Regions from separate parts of the Homo sapiens genome. Here regions 1 and 3 are each linked to region 2. The links are contacts of gene promoters, found by promoter capture Hi-C in blood cells and fetal thymus (Javierre and others, 2016). All regions are on one chromosome and are shown on one strand. Each heading gives the region's core, a stretch centred on a gene start or on the middle of the fragment in contact. The rest is flanking DNA. Distances are from core to core; before and after follow the strand shown.

What was found. Contacts are between HindIII fragments. The CHiCAGO score rates a contact against its expected background, and 5 or more counts as called.
Region 1: a contact is called between a fragment that was not itself captured here and the fragment with the promoter of PARP8 in region 2, in 2 of 17 cell types (monocytes and M0 macrophages). The highest score is 6.0, in monocytes.
Region 3: a contact is called between the fragment with the promoter of MOCS2 here and the fragment with the promoter of PARP8 in region 2, in 1 of 17 cell types (activated CD4 T cells). The highest score is 5.3, in activated CD4 T cells.

What each region holds. Positions count from the first base shown.
Region 1 is chr5:52,808,113-52,810,812 of GRCh38, forward strand. The region is part of intron 1 of ITGA1 (integrin subunit alpha 1); the gene reads left to right. Among named protein-coding and RNA genes, the nearest start is that of PELO-AS1, 8.6 kb to the left of the region's middle. The HindIII fragment of the contact is 1,378 bases long and covers 607-1,984 here.
Region 2 is chr5:50,665,106-50,667,902 of GRCh38, forward strand. PARP8 (poly(ADP-ribose) polymerase family member 8) reads left to right here and starts at 1,532. Exons shown (of 26, transcript NM_024615.4): 1 at 1,532-2,081. The coding sequence starts at 1,991. RefSeq lists silencers at 1,375-1,524, 1,575-1,634, 2,327-2,656 and enhancers at 1,807-2,719, 2,155-2,797. The HindIII fragment of the contact is 4,109 bases long and covers 1-2,797 here.
Region 3 is chr5:53,108,507-53,111,369 of GRCh38, forward strand. MOCS2 (molybdenum cofactor synthesis 2) reads right to left here and starts at 1,251. Exons shown (of 7, transcript NM_004531.5): 1 at 745-1,251; 2 at 16-137. It overlaps MOCS2-DT (MOCS2 divergent transcript), which reads left to right and starts at 1,336. Exons shown (of 2, transcript NR_104654.1): 1 at 1,336-1,642. RefSeq lists a silencer at 990-1,279. The HindIII fragment of the contact is 4,897 bases long and covers 1-2,863 here.

The sequences.
Region 1 (2,700 bases), core at 46-2,545, 2.1 Mb after region 2:
TGGGACTTGAGGATGTTACTGAGGACAATACCAGTACCTGGTATTCACACTGAGGAAAAGATTAAATTACATTCAGTGTATTCTGTTAAAGAAGTCAAATAAATGTAATGTCTTTCAATGATTTTCATCCAAAAATAGTGGTACTTTAAAAAATCTTTAGCTGTCATACCTAGAATGACTGTTCCAGATAACCAGAGTTTTACTATGCCTTAATAGTCTCAGTAATAAAACTCAAATAATTGTTGAAGGATGAATTTTTGTTAAGGAAAAAAATCCCAATAGATTTTAGTTGTACAATTTATTCAGAGATAGGAGGTCCTTCTGAGTTCAAGTCTACGTTCCAGAAGTTTTATGTCTGGAATTTTTCATCAAGTCCTAGTGTAAACATTGACTAGAACTTTTTGTTTGACACCATTGTGAAAAATTGCTCTGTGGATAGAAAACATTTTAATCTTGTGTTTCAGCTCATTTGATCTGATGACCATAATTTATAGTTTATTTTTCCTCCCCAAGTGTGTTGTTGACTATGGTATAATTCTTTTTTTCTTTTTCTTTCTTTCTTTCTTTTTTTTTTTTTTTTTTTTTGTTTGATGAGTTTGAAGAGGAAGCTTAAAATACATTTCAGTACATGGCTCTGAATCACTTAAAATCATAAGAGGTTAAAGCTGTAAGGAACTTTATATATCATCGGACCTAGTTCCTTCATGTTACAGATTTAAGCCAGCCCAGAGAGGGTTGGTAACTTGCTCAAACACAATAGGAGTTTTTCACAGGGTCCACATTCCTGTTTGATATATCTGATTCCAATGTCACCTACTTTTTGTCACCTATTCATATTGAGTCATTTGGGGTAGAGGAACAAGGAACAATGCAGGATTCAAAAATGCCTTAAACCCTCCTTATTTATCAAATTATCATCTTGTGGCAAGGCAGTTTTTCTCTGAGCAGCATTGCTGAGACTCAAACTCAGTTTTGAAGTCTTGTTCATTCCTTGGAGGAGTATTTATATTTCCCTATAGGGAACTCTTCCTGCCTTTCTTCTTCTGAGAACCATTTCATTTTTCTGAAAATCATGTACTAAGTACCTACTATGTGACAGGGACTCTAATAGCCCCCAGTGATCAGAAGTAAAGAAAGATCACAGTCTCTTCCTTGCAAAAAAACACAGTCTACAATGGGGAACGAATGGTAAAGCAGTAGTAATAGCAGTGCAATCTGGCACAGGAACATGGGAGCTCAGAGGGCTAACTCAGCCTGGCTTTAGTGAGGAGGTATTCCCAGAGTTTAAACTGGCAAGTTCCAGAAGCCCACACTGATCTTCCATTAGTTTCTAGAGAGATCAGGTGAAGGGACCTGAGATTATTCCTCTTTTAAGGCCTCTCAACTTTACTTTTTTTTTTTTTTTTTTTGGAGACAAGAGTCTTGCTCTATACCCCAGGCTGGAGTGCAGTGGCCTGATCTTGGCTCACTGCCCCTCTGCCTCCTGGGTTCAAGCAATTCTCGTGCCTCACCCTCCCCAGTAGCTGGGGATTACAGGTGCGTGCCACCACACCCAGCTAATTGTCATATTTTTAGTAGAGACGGGGTTTCACCATGTTGGCCAGGTTGGTCTCAAACTCCTGACCTCAAGTGATCTGCCCATCTTGTCCTCCCCAAGTGGGATTACAGGCGTGAGTCACTGCACCTGGCCTCAACTTCACTTTGGTAATATTTTTCTTCTACAGAGTGGTCTCTGTAATCCCTGATCTCTCTAAATGTTAAATATTTACTGTGGAGTCAACAAACCTGAGAGGAGACATCATGGAGAAGGAGATTCCATTACCTCCTACCCTCATAAGAAAATGAAAATCAAATACAGACCAGGGACCATGACTGAAAGGACTCTGAAAGATTGTGGAACCTTTGTATAATAGTATCCATGTTTTTGTTGTCTCCTCTGCATTTCTTACATGACTAAGCACTGACTGGTTAAACCAGAAAAGGAAGCTTAGCTTCTTTCGTTTTTAGGACAGCAAAGATGGGGATGGTGACAGGGGAGTTTGAGACATTCTGTCCCTTTCCATAGCCATTCCTGGAAGAAAGAATGTCCAGGATTAACTGGTTGGTGGCACAGCCACCTCAGGGAAAGGGAAACTGACCCCTGGGGACTGAAGTCAGGAATAAAGAAGTGACAAGGAGCTAGCTGGGGCCTGGGGAAGGCCCTGGGGCTGGACACTAGAAAGACCCACCGGGGTCTTTTCTATTTTTATATTCAACATTTTATCTTTCGTTGTAAAACTCAGGAAAACACCTTTAACAAACAAAAATAACTTCTCTCTTAAGTTGTTCATTTTACTAAATGGCCAACATGGATTGGATATGGTAGAAGGAAAGAACATTTTCTGCAGAAGGGAGAAAAAAACCACAATCTATTTTATGAGGAGGAATGAACTCTGGGAATAGTTCTCTGACCCTTTGTGTGTCAGTGTGTTCTCAGCCTGAACTGGAAGAAAATGGGATAGCATGTGGAATGTGGGAAAGTGCGAAGACTGATGCAAAATTCACTATCTGCCTCATTAAATACACTAGTAGGTTTTCAAGAGAATGAGTCTGTTATCACCACAGTAAATTTCTCACTCTGGGCCTAACTCCTTATCTAAAACTTAATAGAGCTTAATAAGTTCAAATTTTTCCTGTCTTTCTGGGAATCATTTTCACCTT
Region 2 (2,797 bases), core at 282-2,781:
AGTTAATAGACTTTCAGCCTTTCAGAGAAATTAAAGCACATAATGGAAGAAGAAATACTCATGATTCTCAGTGGTGATGTGGAAGAGAAGAGAGCATTTTTGGCAGCCAAAGGGCCTACACAAAGCAACATATCCAGGAAGGACAAAGGGCTTGAACCTGTCCTACCCTAAACAGGAAGCATTTCAGGAGAGGACTGAGCAGGAGATATAGACTGTTGTGACTGTGGCTTTACTACATCAAAGGCTGCAGTGGATCTCAATAATGCAGAATGTTTCCTTTTGTAACTCATAGTGAATATGACTGGACAAGGAAATTATTTTGTAATTTGTTTCCTGAAAGATAAAGGAGTTAGAACATAGGATCTTTCATTGATTCTACAGAATCTTAAGACTCCTTCAGGGATGGCAGTCATTCCTACCGTGCTGAACATCATGTTGTCACGGTCAGAATCAGAACTAAATTGATTAAGGGTCTGAAACAGTTTGGCAACTCTTGGGCACTTATGCTGATAAGAAAAGTGATGAGACAGGGTAATGAAAAGAGGCTGCAAGAAATGACCATTCGTGCATTCAGCCAACATTTAGGCCACCCTCCTGTATTCCAGGCACTGTACATGGCACTGAGTATGCAAAGCAAAAGGAGTCATGGTCTACTGGCGGGAGCCTTCTCAGTGGAGAAAAGATCAACAAGAAAAGTGCCTGCTGGAGACCTCTCCTAGGGCATAAACCAATATAGAGGTGGGGCAGCTACGTCAGCCTGGGGTGTCCTTAGGCAGAACAGAAAGTGAGAATCAGAGCAGTATCTCATTTCTGAACACCTGGATTGTAGCTTTCCCTTGACTGTCAAAGGAGGTGGTTTTAAAAATCAAGCCAAACAGGTTTCCATCTTTTAGGAAGACCCTGGAACGTGCCAGTTGATTCTGACCATTTCTCATGAACAGAAACACCTAGGAAGGGAGAACTGGTGAGTTTCAAGAGGAGGAAGTCCCTCAAAAGGGGCTGTGTTTCGTAAACGGCGCCCCAAAAGGGCTGAACTACTTCGATCTGGAGGAAAAAGACTCAGGCACTGAGGGAAGGGGAGGGTGCACGTCTGGAGTAATTTTAAGGCCTTTTCCGTGTTATGTGATGTGGCAATAAGGAAAGATTTGTTCGTTTTATTATTTTTTTAATTTTTAAAGATTTTCTTTTCCCCCCTTTTCCCCCTCCCAGCCACTCCGGTTTGGGTTTGCCACAAGACTATAATTCCTTTAGAAAGTGGAGTCGAATTCATAAAAGTGATGGGGGGAGGGGCGCGGAGAGGGAAGGCTGGGAGCCCCAGGGAGTCTTCACGACCGCTCAGCTCCCGGCGCGAGTGGAGGTCGGTGTGGGGAGAAGCGGCTCCCGCCCGGGATGGCTAATACTCTGCGAGCCCCGGCAGCCCGCGGCCGGCGGGGTGACTAGGCGGCGGGCGCGGAGGGTCTGCGGCGGGCGGGCGGCGCTGCAGCAGCCTGGGCACGGCTGCCGCCGCCCGCGGGCGCGAGTGTGCGCGGGTGTGGAAGGCCGGCGTGCGAGCCGTGAGGGGTGTGCGCGCGTGAGCCGGAGCGGGGCTCGCCCCTCGCCGGCGCCCGCCGCCCAGCCGGTGATTGCTCTCTGGCTGTCCCCGGCACCTCGGCCCCCACGGCCGTTGGTCCGGGCGGGTGAGGGAGAAAGTGAGACTTGGTGTCATCACCATCCATTGTCAGAAGGGGAGGAAATTGGAATCCAGCAGCGGCGAGCAGCAGCTGGGCGGTCACATCTGGGAATGCAAAGCCGACCTCCCCCTCCTCCTCCTCCTCCCCCTCCTCCTCCTCCTCTTCTCTCACCCAGGATCACTTCCGAAACCACTTCGCCTTCAGCCCCTGCCTCGGCCAGAGGTTTCATTTTTAACTGAATATTTACGAAAGCTGGAAGCGTGCGAGGGGGGTGGGGTGGGGTGGAAATAGCGGCTGCTTCTTTTCCAGGGATTTATTTAATGGGGATGTGTTCAAGGCAAGAGCGAATTCAGAAGGATATCGACGTCGTGATCCAGAAGTCCAGAGCTGAGAAGGACTGCCTGTTTGCAGGTGAGTTCTTGCTTTTCCAGAACCTCGGACCCAGCGCCCCCTTCCCAGTTTTCTGACCGCGACGTCTGTGGCTGGGGGTGGGGTGGAGGGTTGCACGTCCCCATTCTGGGGTTCATTTGGCAACAGCTGCTGCAACGAGCGCGGGAGCCAAAAGGGGGAGGGGGCGCCAGCCTCTCCCCTTCCCCTCCCCCACCGCCAAGTCTGAGGCAGCCACCAGCTTTGAGGGCAGAGCCCGCGTGGCCGGAGCGGGGGTCTAGGCGAAGGGGCAGTGCGTGGTATTTCCAGCCCCGCGTAGTGCCCGAAGCCTCCAAGCACGCTTCCTGGGTTCCAGCAGCGGCGGCAGAGCGGGGTTGGTTTGCGCAATGGGCTGAGCGGCGGCGGCCGGGAATGGAGCCTGCTGCGCTGCGCTGCGCTTGTAAGCTGCGCCCGGCGCCGAGGACCCCCGGGGGGCAGCGCTCGGCCCATCTCCGGCCCCTTCGGCTCCCTCTAGTCCCCTCCGACTGGCAAAGAGAAGGGATTCCTCGGATTCCCAAGGCACCCAGCGCCCCTGCCTGGGGGTCGCCTTTCGTCCATTTTGCTCCCCCGGGATTTTGCTTTCGCTACCGCGAGCCCGGCTGAGGCTGCTTCCGGCCTCCCCTATCGGGAAATTCCCGCTGTTGCCATGGCACCCGGCACTTGTTGCGGGGGGCGGCCTCCCGCTGCACCCAGTCGGGGGC
Region 3 (2,863 bases), core at 1-2,500, 2.4 Mb after region 2:
CAAATTTTTAACTACCCAGGATGTCGAGTTTCTATCTCCTTCCACAGCTGCAACGCTTTTATTTCTTGAGGCACAGAAATGGTCTCTGAACGAACTCCTGTTATTTCAGCACTTTTTGCAAAATACAATACTTCAACCTGAAAGTAAAGAAAATGCTTTTAATAACAACTCATACTCGTTTTCTGACTGTCAATGTTGAGCAGTTTTCTCATTTTCCAAATGTATTGCTTTAATCAAAGACAAATTTTATAAAGAAAATTAAATAACCCGTAAAAAATTTCAGTATACCTACAAGTTCAAATTCTGAAAACTTGTTGTTTTAAATACAATTCAGACTAATTTCTGGATGCCTTTTAGTTTTACAAACTTAAGTGTGCCATCATTAAAATCCTAAGTATTTATCTTCTAGGAAAACATGTTAAGCCTGCCTTAATTGACATAAAAGTATAGCACCTTTTATAAATATGTAAGCAAAGAACAAATGTTTGAGTCAAGAGATGAGTTACACAAATAAAATAAATGAATAAATAAGCGAAAAACCTGTTTCTCACGGTTGTCAAATGACCTTAGATTCCGGTCTGTATAACATCGTCCCCAGACGCTAAGGATTAAGTTATGCAACATAGTAAATCTGACATTTACAGAAGCAAGTAGGTTTGAAACACACGACAGACTGGAATTTGCTAGAACAAACTTGTGCCAGCAGCCTGGTATGTAAGGGATCCGACGAAGTAAAATAGGCACCTGTCACTCCGTGCAAACAACTCTTTACGAAATAATTACAGGTTTGCAAATGATCAAGGGTGTAGAAATCCACAGATGAAGCACAGTTCTTCACAAGAATTCTCCATGAGGTGCATTTCTTTTTAGATTAAAATTTTAGCTTCATCAAAACGAATAATCTGGGAAAGAGGTGGTCATAAAAGGTGGAGGCGCCTTCAGAACGAGTCCGTCCTTGCTGCCGTGAGCTGACAAGAGTTCTCGGAGAGGACCCGACTTCTGCTGGGGCAGTCGCAGTAAAGCCCGGAGACAGGAAGGGCCCGGGGGCGGGGGCGGGGGCGCCCCCGAACCCAAGACGCCGGCCAGGTTGGGGGCTAGTGGGGAGGTCCGACTGACCAAGGCTGGGTATGTGGAGGGAAAGGGCGGGAGAGACACGTCGAGGAGGGCTCCGCACCCAGGCCCGCACGCACACCCGCCACCCTTACCTGGCACAGCGGCACCATCCCGCCTAGGACAGCGGGACCGAATCACGGCCGCAAAGGCGCAGGCGCGGGCTCACCCGGAGCGCAGGCGTAACCCGACGGCGCTCAGCCCCCGCCTGCGCCTGCACGGAGCATGCGCACAACCAGCTCCGCCCCGCGCCGGGCTCTAGCTGTTTCCCTCAGGCGGCCTGTTCCACGCCAGGATTAGTTTTGCTTCGCAGATGGGCCGTGGTGGTGAGAGGAAGCAATCAGTATGGAAATGGAGAAATGGCTTACCATGCATGTCCTTCTCCCCAGGAGGGAGGTCGTGGTGCAGGCGAGCAGACGCCAGACTCCTGGACACTTGCCGCCTGCGTTATGGAGGCTTAGCTAATAACCTTGCAGGGGTCTTCAGGCTTTTCCACTGGCTCACCTTTAGGCTTCTGACACTTTTACCTACGGTATGTGAACCTCGAAAATTTGAGACAGGTCTCAGTTAACTTAGAAAGTTTATTTTGCCAACGTTGAGGACATGCCCGTGACACAGCCTCAGGAAGTCCTGAGGACATGTGCCCAAGGTGGTCAGGGCACAGCTTGGTTTTATACATTTTGGGGAGACAGGAGACATCAATCAATATGTAAAAAGTACATTAGTTCCTTCCAGAAAGGCGGAGACCGTTAAAAGCAAGCCCCGCCCCCCCCAACTGGGGGCTTCCAGGTAGGTAATAGACAGTAGCATTCTTTTGAGTTTCTGATAAGTCTTTCTAAAGGAGGCAATCAGAATATGCATCTATTCTTTGTCAGCAAAAGAGGTGACTTGGATAGAATAGGAGGCAGATTTGCCCTGAGTAATTCCCAGTTTGAAGGGGCCCAAGATTTTTTTCTTTCCCAGGTATATGATTAGTGTTTCTTAAAGACAGAATATCCGCCTGGTCAGAACATTCGAACTGTATGACTTTTCCTGTTTATTGGCTGCTCGGTAATTGTATACTGTCCGTCCAACTTTCCCAATTCTTGCCAACAAGAACTCTTGGCTTTAAATTGCTTGCGTCGTTAAGTGGATGTAAGTTACACGTCCCTTTCCTTGGAGCTCACAGTCCTGGGTAGGAGAGTTTTAAATATGAATGATAATTCCCTGTAATACTAAGGATCTGTGTTACATTTCAAGGGTGGAAGGGGAAAGTGGTTGTGTCACCTGGGGAGTGAGAAGATGCTGAGAAGGTAAATCTGCTAGAATGGTGGCAGTAAATGACAAGAGTGGGAGTAGAGCACGAAGAAATTTCACTTGCCTCTGACAAGCCACAGGGATATGAAGAAGCATAATAAGTTCACAGAAGGGCAAGTAGTTGGCAAGGCAGGTGTGCCTCCAGCAAAGGAGGTGATGAGAAGTGAGGCTGGAGAGTCCTTGGTAGGAAAAATTGACAAGGAGCAATGAATACCAATGTGTATCCTGGTAAAGTTGCTAAACATAAAGGATAAAGACTATATTCACACCCAGGCATAAAAACAAGGGAATGACAATAGTGGCCTTAGACTCCTCAGTGGCATCTGATGGCAATGTGCAGTGTGTAAAAAAGGCTGAGAACAAAAGCATGATCCCATAATATTACAGCCAAACTGGTGGGGCAGGATTCTCCTAAATCAGCAAAAACTCAAAAAACACAATACCCAAGAACCCTTCT